Linked DNA regions of Homo sapiens: all the other regions are linked to region 3. The links are contacts of gene promoters, found by promoter capture Hi-C in human tissues and cell types (Jung and others, 2019). All regions are on one chromosome and are shown on one strand. The core of a region is centred on a gene start or on the middle of the fragment in contact, and the rest is flanking DNA. Distances in the headings are between cores, read along the strand shown.

What was found. The method cuts DNA at HindIII sites, captures the fragments that hold promoters and counts their contacts. A contact is called where the count stands out against the background at its distance.
Region 1: a contact is called between a fragment that was not itself captured here and the fragment with the promoter of RNF175 in region 3, in 1 of the 25 tissues and cell types used here (aorta).
Region 2: a fragment that was not itself captured here is called in contact with the fragment with the promoter of RNF175 in region 3 in 2 of the 25 tissues and cell types used here (dorsolateral prefrontal cortex and liver).
Region 4: a fragment that was not itself captured here is called in contact with the fragment with the promoter of RNF175 in region 3 in 2 of the 25 tissues and cell types used here (H1 embryonic stem cells and neural progenitor cells).

What each region holds. Positions count from the first base shown.
Region 1 is chr4:153,308,259-153,310,958 of GRCh38, reverse strand. All of the region lies in intron 6 of TRIM2 (tripartite motif containing 2), which reads right to left. It also overlaps the pseudogene ANXA2P1. Among named protein-coding and RNA genes, the nearest start is that of MND1, 35 kb to the left of the region's middle. The HindIII fragment of the contact is 6,924 bases long and covers 1-2,700 here.
Region 2 is chr4:154,206,666-154,209,365 of GRCh38, reverse strand. LOC101927947 (a long non-coding RNA gene) reads right to left here. Exons shown (of 15, transcript XR_007058336.1): 12 at 2,313-2,398. Among named protein-coding and RNA genes, the nearest start is that of DCHS2, 280 kb to the left of the region's middle. The HindIII fragment of the contact is 4,839 bases long and covers 1-2,700 here.
Region 3 is chr4:153,758,686-153,761,385 of GRCh38, reverse strand. It overlaps RNF175 (ring finger protein 175), which reads left to right and starts at 1,362. Exons shown (of 9, transcript NM_173662.4): 1 at 1,362-1,589. The coding sequence starts at 1,524. The HindIII fragment of the contact is 12,933 bases long and covers 1-2,700 here.
Region 4 is chr4:154,223,169-154,225,868 of GRCh38, reverse strand. All of the region lies in intron 12 of LOC101927947 (a long non-coding RNA gene), which reads right to left. Among named protein-coding and RNA genes, the nearest start is that of DCHS2, 270 kb to the left of the region's middle. The HindIII fragment of the contact is 8,820 bases long and covers 1-2,700 here.

The sequences.
Region 1 (2,700 bases), core at 129-2,628, 450 kb after region 3:
TGAACTCAAGGGCAATGTGTTGGCCCAGCTCTTATTCTTGGTTTGAATTTAAGGAGAGCTCAAGTCTGTTGCCCACATGTAAATTAAATCACAAGGTCAGAGGAATGTCTGTTTGTCTAACATTGCTTATATATTTTTGAAAGAAGCTAAACGAAACAGGCACTACCATTTTTATTTTGCAATATTTGTTTTTAAAAAATCTTTTCTTTAAGCTCTATGGCTTGGTTTCTGAATGGCTGGTTGGGATTCCTGGTAACATCTCCTGATTCTTACGGTCCTCTTTTGTCGTATTGGAGATTATTGATTATTATTATTTTTTAAACTCTACCTGAAAGCACAGCAGAATCAGTGTGTTACTCCTGAAGATTAAAAGGACACCACTAGCATATACTTGGGAAGACAATTGATGCCAACTATTTTCACCAACAGTTAAACTAGAAATATCTTGATGGTGATGCAGCACTACAGTAGATTGTCATTATGCTGCAATGTTCAAGTGTTTGTAAAGTGTCTTAAGGCAATTCCAGAAGTTAGAAATAATTTGGGATCATGCCTTACTCTTCAAGCTTTTCAGTAAATTCTGTTTCATTTGTAGAAAGTCTCTTCTCTCTCTCTAAAGTATTCTAAATATATAATAAAAACTAGTTCTTTCATAACAAATATAAATAACACAAAACACATATAATACTTATAAAATATTTTTCTATCTACTTTAATGTAAAAGATTTCATTTGATGGTTACATATTAGCTAGTAGAATGAATAACAAGAATTTTTAAAGTAATTATAATCAATTTAACAATTATTCTATAATTCCATAATTAAATCATTTTGTTTTTCCAGATGCAAGTCTAGCCTATGAAGCACAAAATGAATTTTTAATTCAACAGCTTCTCACCCATATTCTTCCTGGTCACTTCCACCTACCCCTCCAGGAAGATTACATAAGGTGAACCCTTAGACTGAAATAGGGGATCAATAAATGCAGATTTCCTCTCACCACCCACTCCAACTTAATATGAAATTAATGCTGGCCGGGCACAATGGCTTACACCTGTAATCCCAGCACTTTGGGAGGCCAAGGTGGGTGGATCACTTGAGGTCAGGAATTTAAGACCAGCCTGGCCAACATAATGAAACCCCATCCCTACTACTAAAAATACAAAAAATTAGCTGAGCATGGTGGCGCATGCCTGTAATCCCAGCTACTCAGGAGGCCGAGGCAGGAGAATTGTTTGAACCCAGGAGGCAGTGGTTGCAGTGGGCTGAGATCATGCCACTGTACTTCAGCCTGCAAGACTCCATCTCAAAAAAAAAAAAAAAAAAGAAGTTAATGCTAAATAAATCTAGATGTTTTGAATGGAATCATGCAACAAGATGAAACTGAGCCAAGTGTAAGATCTAACACAGGATCTTCAATCAAGTAGGTGCTTAACAAATGTTTGCTGGATGAAAAAGTGCATGAATAAGTTATTAATGAGTGAGTAAATTACAACCCCCATTGTATCACTGGAAAACAAAATGTTCAATTATATTTATAGCACTTTCATGTACATTTTCTCACATACCATCCCATGAGATAGCAGGACAAACATTATCATCCCCATTTTATAGATGAGAAAGTTGAAGCTAGACACATTACCGAGATCATCAGAGACAGGGGGAAGAATAAAACCTGGTTCTCCTGATCCTTTACATAACACTTTTTTCCCCAATACACACATGGCTTCTTCTGGGTTTTGGTGGTGAAGATAATTACATTTTGGGCTCACATGAATCATGTTTTCTCTTTAAAATCCTTTAGAAAACCCCATCCTTTAACACATGATACTTTATTTAACTGTCTGTATCCTTCACTACACTGTAAGTTGCTTGAGGGCAGGAGCAACATCTGTCCTGTACACCATTGCACCCTATAACACAGCATAGTGCCTAGCACTTAGTCAATATTAGTTGCATCTTTTTCCACTTGAAATGCAAGAAGAGTTCCCAAGGATGAGATTCTCAAGGATGGGGTGAAGGTCCTATAATGACCTAAGATGCCAACTTAGCACGACCTCCCTCCTCATATATTTTAGGGAGGAAAGGTGGTAGTTTGCAGAGGTGGGGCAGGGGAGAGGGGCATAAAATAATATATTTTCAGCTCAGCATCTGGGGACGCTCTCAGGTCTTGGTGCCCAGCCCAGCTTCCTTCAAAATATCTGCTGTTCATGAAATCCTGTGCAAGCTCAGCTTGGAGGGTGAACACTCTACACTCCCAAGTGCATTTGGGTCAGTCAAAGCCTACACCAAATTTGATGCTGAGCAGGATGCTTTGAACATTGAAATGGCCATCAAGACCAAAGGTGTGGATGAGATCACCACTGTCAACATTTTGACTAACCACAGCAATGCACAGAGACAGGATATTGCCTTCACCTACCAGAGAAGGACCAAAAAGGAACTTGTATCAGCACTTAAGTCAGCCTTATCTGGCCACCTAGATAGTGGCTTTGGGCCTATTAAAGACACCTGCTCAGTATGATGCTTCTGAGCTAAAATCTTCCATGAAGGGGCTGGGAACCAACAAGGACTCCCTCATTGAGATCATCTGCTCAAGAACCAACCAAGAGCTGCAGGAAATTAACAGAGTCTACAAGGAAATGTACAAGACTGATCTGGAGAAGGACATTATTTCGGACACATCTGGTGACTTCTGCAA
Region 2 (2,700 bases), core at 110-2,609, 450 kb before region 3:
GGGAGATGTAAAATAGGATGTTTGTCCACAAATCCTCTTCCAAAACTTAGCAAAGAAGTGGGTAGGAAGGAGCAGTACAGTTTGCCAGTTCTCTGGATGTGTTTATTTAGTTCATCTGCTTGCAAAGCATTTCTGTATCTCATTTGTTTTTATTCCAGGAAAAGACTGACAAATGAGTTATAAAATTCCCACTATATATATGAAGAAACTAAGCATAAGTGAGGTCAGAGAATCTCCCAGAAATAACATATTTGACAGTGGCAGTGTTGAATCCAGGGATTGAAAATCTAGCACGGGTGGGCCATGTGGGTATAGGGGACTTTCCAGTTCCGCTTCTGGACACTGCCCGTTCTTTGTCTATCCCATGGGTTGGGTGGTCTCTATGGTCCTTCGAGCCCCTCATCCAGATATCCAGATAGCCAGCCTCCTGTTCATTTGTTCTCCACTTTCTTCCCACTTCTATGTCTAGCACCAAGTGCACTTTGATTGTTAGGCCTTCCCATGTCCCTGAGACATGGGCGATTAGACCCCCCAGGAGAGCTCCCCAAGATGCTCAGAATCCTACTCCTAAATCATTCTAAGGAACCTGAGAGGAGGAAGAGTCCGGGAACTCAGAGCTCACATCCTTTCCTATGCAGATAAACTCAGTAACGCACATCTACATAAAGGTGGGACAAAATTCCCAGCAGCAGGGAGAAGACTCAGCAAGGCCCTGGTGGGGGCAATTCTAGGCGGACGTGAGTCACTGACACTCACTGACCTCACTGGGCGGTGCCCTCCTGAGCACTCAGCCACACCCACAGCCCCTTTGCCTTTGCATCACAGGGGAGAAGCAGGTGGAGAGGAAAAGCACAGAAACATGTCTGGCCCTGACCACAGGGCACAGCTTCCTGAAAGAAAAAACTTGGATTGTTCATAGGAAATAATGGAACAAGCATTAGTTAATCTAATTATGGTATTAAAAACAAACAAACAAACAAACAAAAACAGAGGGTTTCCCGAATGATTTCTTTGCTGACTTCTCACTTGGGTTGAGAGACCCAGGAAGAAGCAATAAGTATGTCACAGTCCAACAGGGTTTGGCCCACCATCTGATAAAAATGAGTGTCCATGCTTACAATAACAGCTAATATTTATTGTGTGTGTACTAGATGCCAGACATGCTCTAAGTGTATAATCTCATTTTGTCCTCAAATAACCCTAGAAATTGCCATTATTTCCAATTACAGATACAAATCTATTTGGGAATATTCTGGGTACTGACCTACTATTTGGTCTAAGGCTTCTACATCTTTTTCAACTTGGAGAACATTTTGGAAATTTTTTTTCTCAGTCAATCTTCAAAACACAAGATTTCTTGGCCCATTATTTATACAGGTTCTATAAGAGTAAAATAGGTTCTCCCCTGGGGAGAGGGACTTTAAAAAGTGCGAGAAATAGCAAAGACAGGAGGTTGTCACTCAAACAAGTAGATATGCTAAAGCTGCCAGCAGAGACAGACTAGCAGGTAGTGGAATAATAATTAATATTTTATTACTCTCAGAGCTTCATTCTTTCATTAATGTTTGAATAAGATAGGTCTGTTTTATAATGTTTTCTTATGTGTGTTTCTGGGTCTACTTACTTCTCCTGTATGTTTTGTCTTTTTTCCCCCTTTCAGGTTTTTTCTTTCTTGTTTCTGTCATTCAGTTTCAGGTAGCCTTTTGGGTCTCTTTTTGCTTTGAAGATTATCTCTTTTTTTTTAATCCTTGCTTTTTGTTGGAGGAGTCTTTACCTCTATCATTGTCATTTGTTAAAACTATGTTATTTTTCCATTCCTCTCTTTTCATCCACTTAGCCAATTGTGATCTGTTTTCATTCATTCTGTTTTTAATTACAAGCTTCCTCGCATGGTGCTTTTTCTCTGCTCTCCTTCATAATTTTCCTTTATCTCTTCATAACTAATTTTTTTCTCTAATTAATGGGAAGCTTATCTAACTATTCAAGTATTTATGATTTCTCCCTAATTGGTCCTTCTTTCTCCTTTCCTTGGGATCTTCCTCCAGCACTCAATTTGGTAATGCACTGAGTTGAAACAGAAGGATCTCACAATTTTTCCATTACTCAGTCATTCTCTATCTTTCAGAAACAAGTTCATGAAATTACCTACAGTGCCTTTAGGCTATAGTTCTCCCTTTAGCTTAGATTAAAATGTGACAGGTGTAGCTGGAAGTTACCTACATTAATCACAGACAGAATATAAGGAACAAAGTGCATCAGGAGGTAAGGACTGGAGTGCAAGAGCTTCTAACTAGTGAAAGCAAGGTACTTACGTGTGCAGACAGTCAGAAAATGGTCCTCTCAATCAATGATGTGGGAGATGAGCTGGAGTTTCCTTTGTCTCCCTGAAGTTGTAAATCTTTGAAAACAAAAGCAATTTTGAAAAATATAGTTAAAAATGTTTCATGGGGGTCTCACTGCCTTTTTTTGGAGACAATTTTCCAGGCCACCTTGCATTTGTTTGGTTCTTATTTCCAAAAGGCATTGGCATTATCTCAATTCATCTTATTAATAACTCTAAGAAAAAAAAAAACTGCACTGAAATTGCCCAGTTCACAGGTGAGCTTTCTCAGGGATGGAGTTTCACTTGTTCAATCTAATGTAAGATTTAATAACAAACAAGGTTTTCGGTCTATGTCTGTTGAGTTCTGTGCTTTCTCA
Region 3 (2,700 bases), core at 113-2,612:
TTCCAACACACTCTGATCATGCTACAAGGTAGTCTTCAGATGTAGGTAACAGCCCCAGCGGCACCTGAAAACTTGTTCAAAAGACAAATGCTCAGGCTCCACCCTAGACCTACTATATTAAAAACTCTAGGGCTCAACTCCAGCAATCTGAAGATTTTTGTTTTGTTTTTTGATAGAGTCTCGCTCTGTTGTCCAGGCAGAAGTGCAGTGGTTCCATCACGGCTTACTGCAGCCTGAACCTCCCGGGCTCCGGCGATCCTCCAGCCTCAACCTCCTGAGTAGCTGGGGCTACAGGTGTACCACGCCCAGCTCACTTTTGTATATTTTATAGAGATGGGGCTTCACCATGTTGCCTAGGCTGGTCTCAAACTCCTAGGTTCAAGCAATCCGCCCGCCCTGTCCTCCCAAAGTGCTGGGATTAAAGGCATCAGCCACTGTGCTTGGCCAGCACTCTGAGTTTTAACAAACTCAGCATTCCTCCATAGGATTCTGATGCCCAGTTAAGGCTGGAAAACCAAGGCACCATCCGTGATAAATTGTACTTAGATGCTTATTTTTCTCTATCCCCTGTTAGGCTCTACGTTCCACAATGGCAGAGAAATGTCCATCTTGGTCTGTTCACCTCCTTTGTAGGTGTTGACAAATACGAGCCATCACAAACTGGAAAGGGGTAAGCTGTATTTCGTAGGACACATCATCTAATTCTGTGCTCCTCTTTTCTGTTTCCCCAAATCAACACCCAGGTATTTCTAAAGGCTTGCCTAAACGTTCCAGCTTGTTCTCAACCTTGAAGCCAGGCTTAGGCCTAAGTTGTAAAGGCGGGAGGGGAGACCCTGGAGGTAGAGGGGCAAAGGCAAGATGCTTGCGTCGCAGGGGCCCTGCATGGCCTGGAGCAGCATAGGGGCCAAGATGGTCTGCGCTCTCCCTAGATTGGAGTTTCTCTCCTTCATCATCTTTGGAGGAAGCACAGATAACTGAGGAAAGTCTGTATCTGCACAGCCACCCGAACTCCTGCCTCCTAATAAACACCTCTGAGGGAGAGGAAACTCTCTCTCTCTCTTCTCTTCCTCCCCAGCACCCCTCGCCCCCCCACCGCCATTTCTCACTCCTCTACTCCCCTCTCTCTCCCTACCCACCTCTGACCCCTCCTCCAGTCCTGCCGCCCGGTAACAAAACCGGGGTTCCCGCCACACGCACCCGGTAGGGCTCAAGACGCTTTATCGGCGACAATGGCTGGCTGAATGGGAGGCCTGAGGTTCTGAAGGAACCGGGGTGCTGGCGACCGGGACCTCGAGGCCGCTGCTGGGGAGGACGCTGGCCAGCGTGCAGGGGGCGGAGGCGGGGCGTGCCGGGAGGCTCCCATCTCCCGCCCCGCACAACCCGGGCAGGGCCGCCGCTCCGCCGCCGCCGCAGATCCGGCTCTCACCCTCGGCTCCCGAGGCCCCGCGGCGCCTCCTTCTGCGGACTCTGCGGGACCCTCCCCGGCAGGCGCTGTGCCCTGGAGAAGGCACAGTGGCTCAGGCATGGCCGCGGGGACGGCGGCGCGGAAGGCAGCGCCGGTGCTGGAGGCCCCCCCGCAGCAGGAGCAGGTACTGGCGCGGGGGCGCGGGCGTGGGGGACGCCAGGCCGGGGTCCCGGGGCTCACGCTGGTGCCGGGCAGGCTGCACAGACTGGTCTCCAAGACCCCGGGCCCCACCGGGGAGAACCGGCCCTGGAAAGACGTGGGGACGGACGCATGACCTTCTGGAAGATGCCACCGTGCGGGGTGCCAGTCCCTCCTCCACTCCCTCCCTCCCCACTTCTGTGCCCTCCCCGCTACCTTCCTTTCCTCCTTCTGATCCTCTTCCTTCGCTCCATCCCTCTTCTCGCATCCTCGCACTTTCTCTTCCAGGCTCACCCCTTCCACTCCCGCCCTCCTTTGTGACCGCCTGTGCCCTCCTCCCTCCTCGGCGGAAGCCCCCAGAGCCCAGGGTCAAGGTCGTAAGCTGCGAGAGAGGGGAAGGGGTGTACTGCAGGCTTTTGGCTAGACCGCCCTGGTTCTCAAACTCGAGTGTCATCAGAATCACTCGGAGGGCCTGTTACCACGCAGACTGCTGGTCTGTGCCCAGGGTTTCTGATTCAAGATGTGTACCCTGATCGTCAGCTTGTCTTGCCTGGTGCTCAACCTAGCCCATTTCTGCTTCTGCTGGCGTCAATTGCAAACCCAATCTTAATTTATTCTTCGTTCATAGGACAATTCTTCTTAGGCTACATCCAGGTACCAGGAGGATTTGGGGGTGGAGGAGGGTAGGTCTTACCTGGAGGAACCCAAATCCCATCCGTAAAACGAGGACAAAAATAACTCTTAAGGGCAAAGATAACTCTTAAACAACAACAAAAATCACTCACAGAGCGGGTAGGAAGAGATTAATGTCCCAAAATAGGTTCAGGCAAAGAACTGTAGGATTTCTGAGAAGGGCTTGCTCCTGACTAACCCCCTTCTCCTCCAACCCGTGAGGGCGTGGCATTCGAGCTGGGTGTTGGGGAATGGACAGGATCTGACCTCATGGGCCAGAGAATTCTAGATGGAGGGAACAACAGTACCAAATGGCTTGGAGATTTTTTTTTTTTTAATATTGGGATGGATGGCCATGGGACAAGGCAGAGAGAGGGGACTGTCCACTCTGACTGCCAGAAACCTAGGGGTCAGGAATGCTTATA
Region 4 (2,700 bases), core at 69-2,568, 460 kb before region 3:
TTCTATGTGAGGAAAATTATATCTCCTGAAGTGCATAGAGTAAACTCGAGTAGATGTTTTTGAATAGAAATAGTAAATGTTAGAAAAATGCCAGTTGTTCCTAAGTAAATTTACAAATTTAACCTTATCTTAATATACATATTATATTTTTTTCTGGAGTTAAAGAACTTGATTATACTGTTTATTTGGAAGCATAAACAGACAAGATAACTGGGAAACACTAAAAAGAGCTGTGTGTGTGTATATGCATGTGTACACAAACATGCACTCATGCACTAACCCTATCAGATAACAAATGTATTATTAAAGCCTCGATAATTAAAACAGGGTGGCAATAGGGCATGACTAGATAGACTAATGGAACCGAATAGAAAATACAAAAATGGATCCAAGTGCATGGAAGGCTTCCTGTAATGATGAATTAGGTTGTTGTATACCAACCCCACCACTGAGAATAAGTACAAAAAGCTGGGTAATTAATAAAAAGGAGGAGGGACAGAGGAGGAGTGGAAGCTAGAGGTATAAGAGTAGAAGGAAAAGGAGAAGAAGAAAAAGAAACAGTTTTGTGTACGTGTGTTTGTATGTGAAGCATCAGAGAACCACCAAGGCAGTTAAGACTTGAGATGCCATGCTCCTGGAAAGATGAGAAACACAGAGAGGTAAACCTAATAGTACACTGTGCCTCTAACACCCTTGAGGCTGAGCAGCAATGTCAACTGCAAGGTGAAGTAGCTACACAGAACTATTGGCAATTTTTTGGGGACAAAAATTAGAGTTAAGGGTTGTAAACCCAAACGTATCTGAGACAGGCATCAATCAATTTAGAAAGTTTATTTCACCAAGGTTAAGGACATGCTCATGACACAGCCTTGAAAGATCCTGATGACATGTTCCCAAGGTGCTTGTGGTACGGCTTGCATTTTTATACGTTTTAGTGAGACATAATACATCAATCAATGCATGTAAGATGTACATTGATTCAATGTGCAAAGCAAGACAACTCAAAGTGGGGGTTCCCAGGTCATAGGAACAGTTAAAGATTTTGTGATTGGCAATTGCTTGAAAGAGTGAAATTATCTAAACACCTGGCATCAGTAGAAAGGAATGTCTGTGTTACAATAAGGGGTTGTGGAGACCAAAGTTTTATCTTTCAGCTGAAGACTCCAGGTAGCTGACTTCAGAGAGAATAGACTGTAAATGTTTCTTAACAGACTTAAAGTCTGTGTTGATGTGAATGTTGGTTGGCTTTTCCTGAATTCCAAAAGACAGGAGGTAAAATTAGGCATGTCCAACTCCCACTTCCTATCATGGCCTGAACTAGTTATTCAGGTTAACTTTGGAATGCTGTTGGTTGAGAGGAGGAATTCATTCAGATAATTGGGGTCTTAGAATTTTATTTCTGATTTGCTTACCAAGGAGGCAGGCCTTTGATAAATATGCCAGCCTGTAAGTTGGAAATCCTAGAAAGCTACACCTCAGGAGCAGAGGTAAACTAGAAAAGACAAGCTCTCACAAAGTATATTGCCAAGTTTCAAATAAAATCAATCACGTATTTGAGTCTGGTAATCTGTCACTACTCTAACTGCCTGCCAAAAATAATATTTAGACCTCTATAGAAGATAAAATCATTCAGAGCATTTGTGATTATTCACAACAATGTCCAGCATTCAATCCAAAATTGCTAGAGATACTGAGGAAAAGCCCACATGACCAGAGCTAATATATATATATATATATATATATATATATATATATATATATATACACATAATATACATAAATACATAATAGAAACAGGCAACAGGAAGTTCATGTATTGCATTATCCCACGTGGACTTTCAAATAGCTGTTCAAGAAATTAGATGCCATAATAGAGAATATCAGGAGAGAACTGAAAACTATTCTTTTAATGAAAAAGAAATTCCAAACTATAAAATACAACTGCCACTTCACACCTACTAAGATAGCTATAATAAAAAGAAAGATAATAACACGTGAGAATTAGTGATGATATGGAGAAATTGGAACTCTCATATACTGCTGATGGGAATGTAAAACGGTACAGTCTGTACGGAAACTGTCCAGGAGGTTCTCAAAAAGTCAAATCATAATACTCTGCAATTCCATTCCTAGGTGTATATCCAATAGAAATAAAAGTTATGTTCATATGAACATTTGTCCGGGAATGTTTATAGCAATATTATTTATAAAAGCCAAAAAGTGGAAACAACCCAAATGTCAATTAACTGATGAATATATAAACCAAATGTGGTATATCGATAAAATTGAGTATTATTCAGCAAAAATAAAGTACTGACACATGCTGTAAGACAGATGAACTTGAGAAAAATTATGCAAAGTGAAAAAATCCAGTCACAAAAGATCACGTATTTTATGATTGTTTATGTGTAATTTCCAGAAAAAGCAAATATATAGAGACATAGAAAGCAGATTAGTGGGGCTCAGAGGTTGGAGAGTTGGGAGAAGACGGTGAATGACTGCTAATGGGTATGGGTTTTCTTTTTTGATAATAAAAATGTTATAAAATTAATTGTAGTGGTGGTTATATGACTCTGTGAATTTACTAAAATCTATTGATTGTACACTTTAAATAGGTGAATTATTATATGATGTATGATTTATATTATATATGAATTATATATTAATAAATGAGTTAAGATACAGTAACTGAAAATTAAG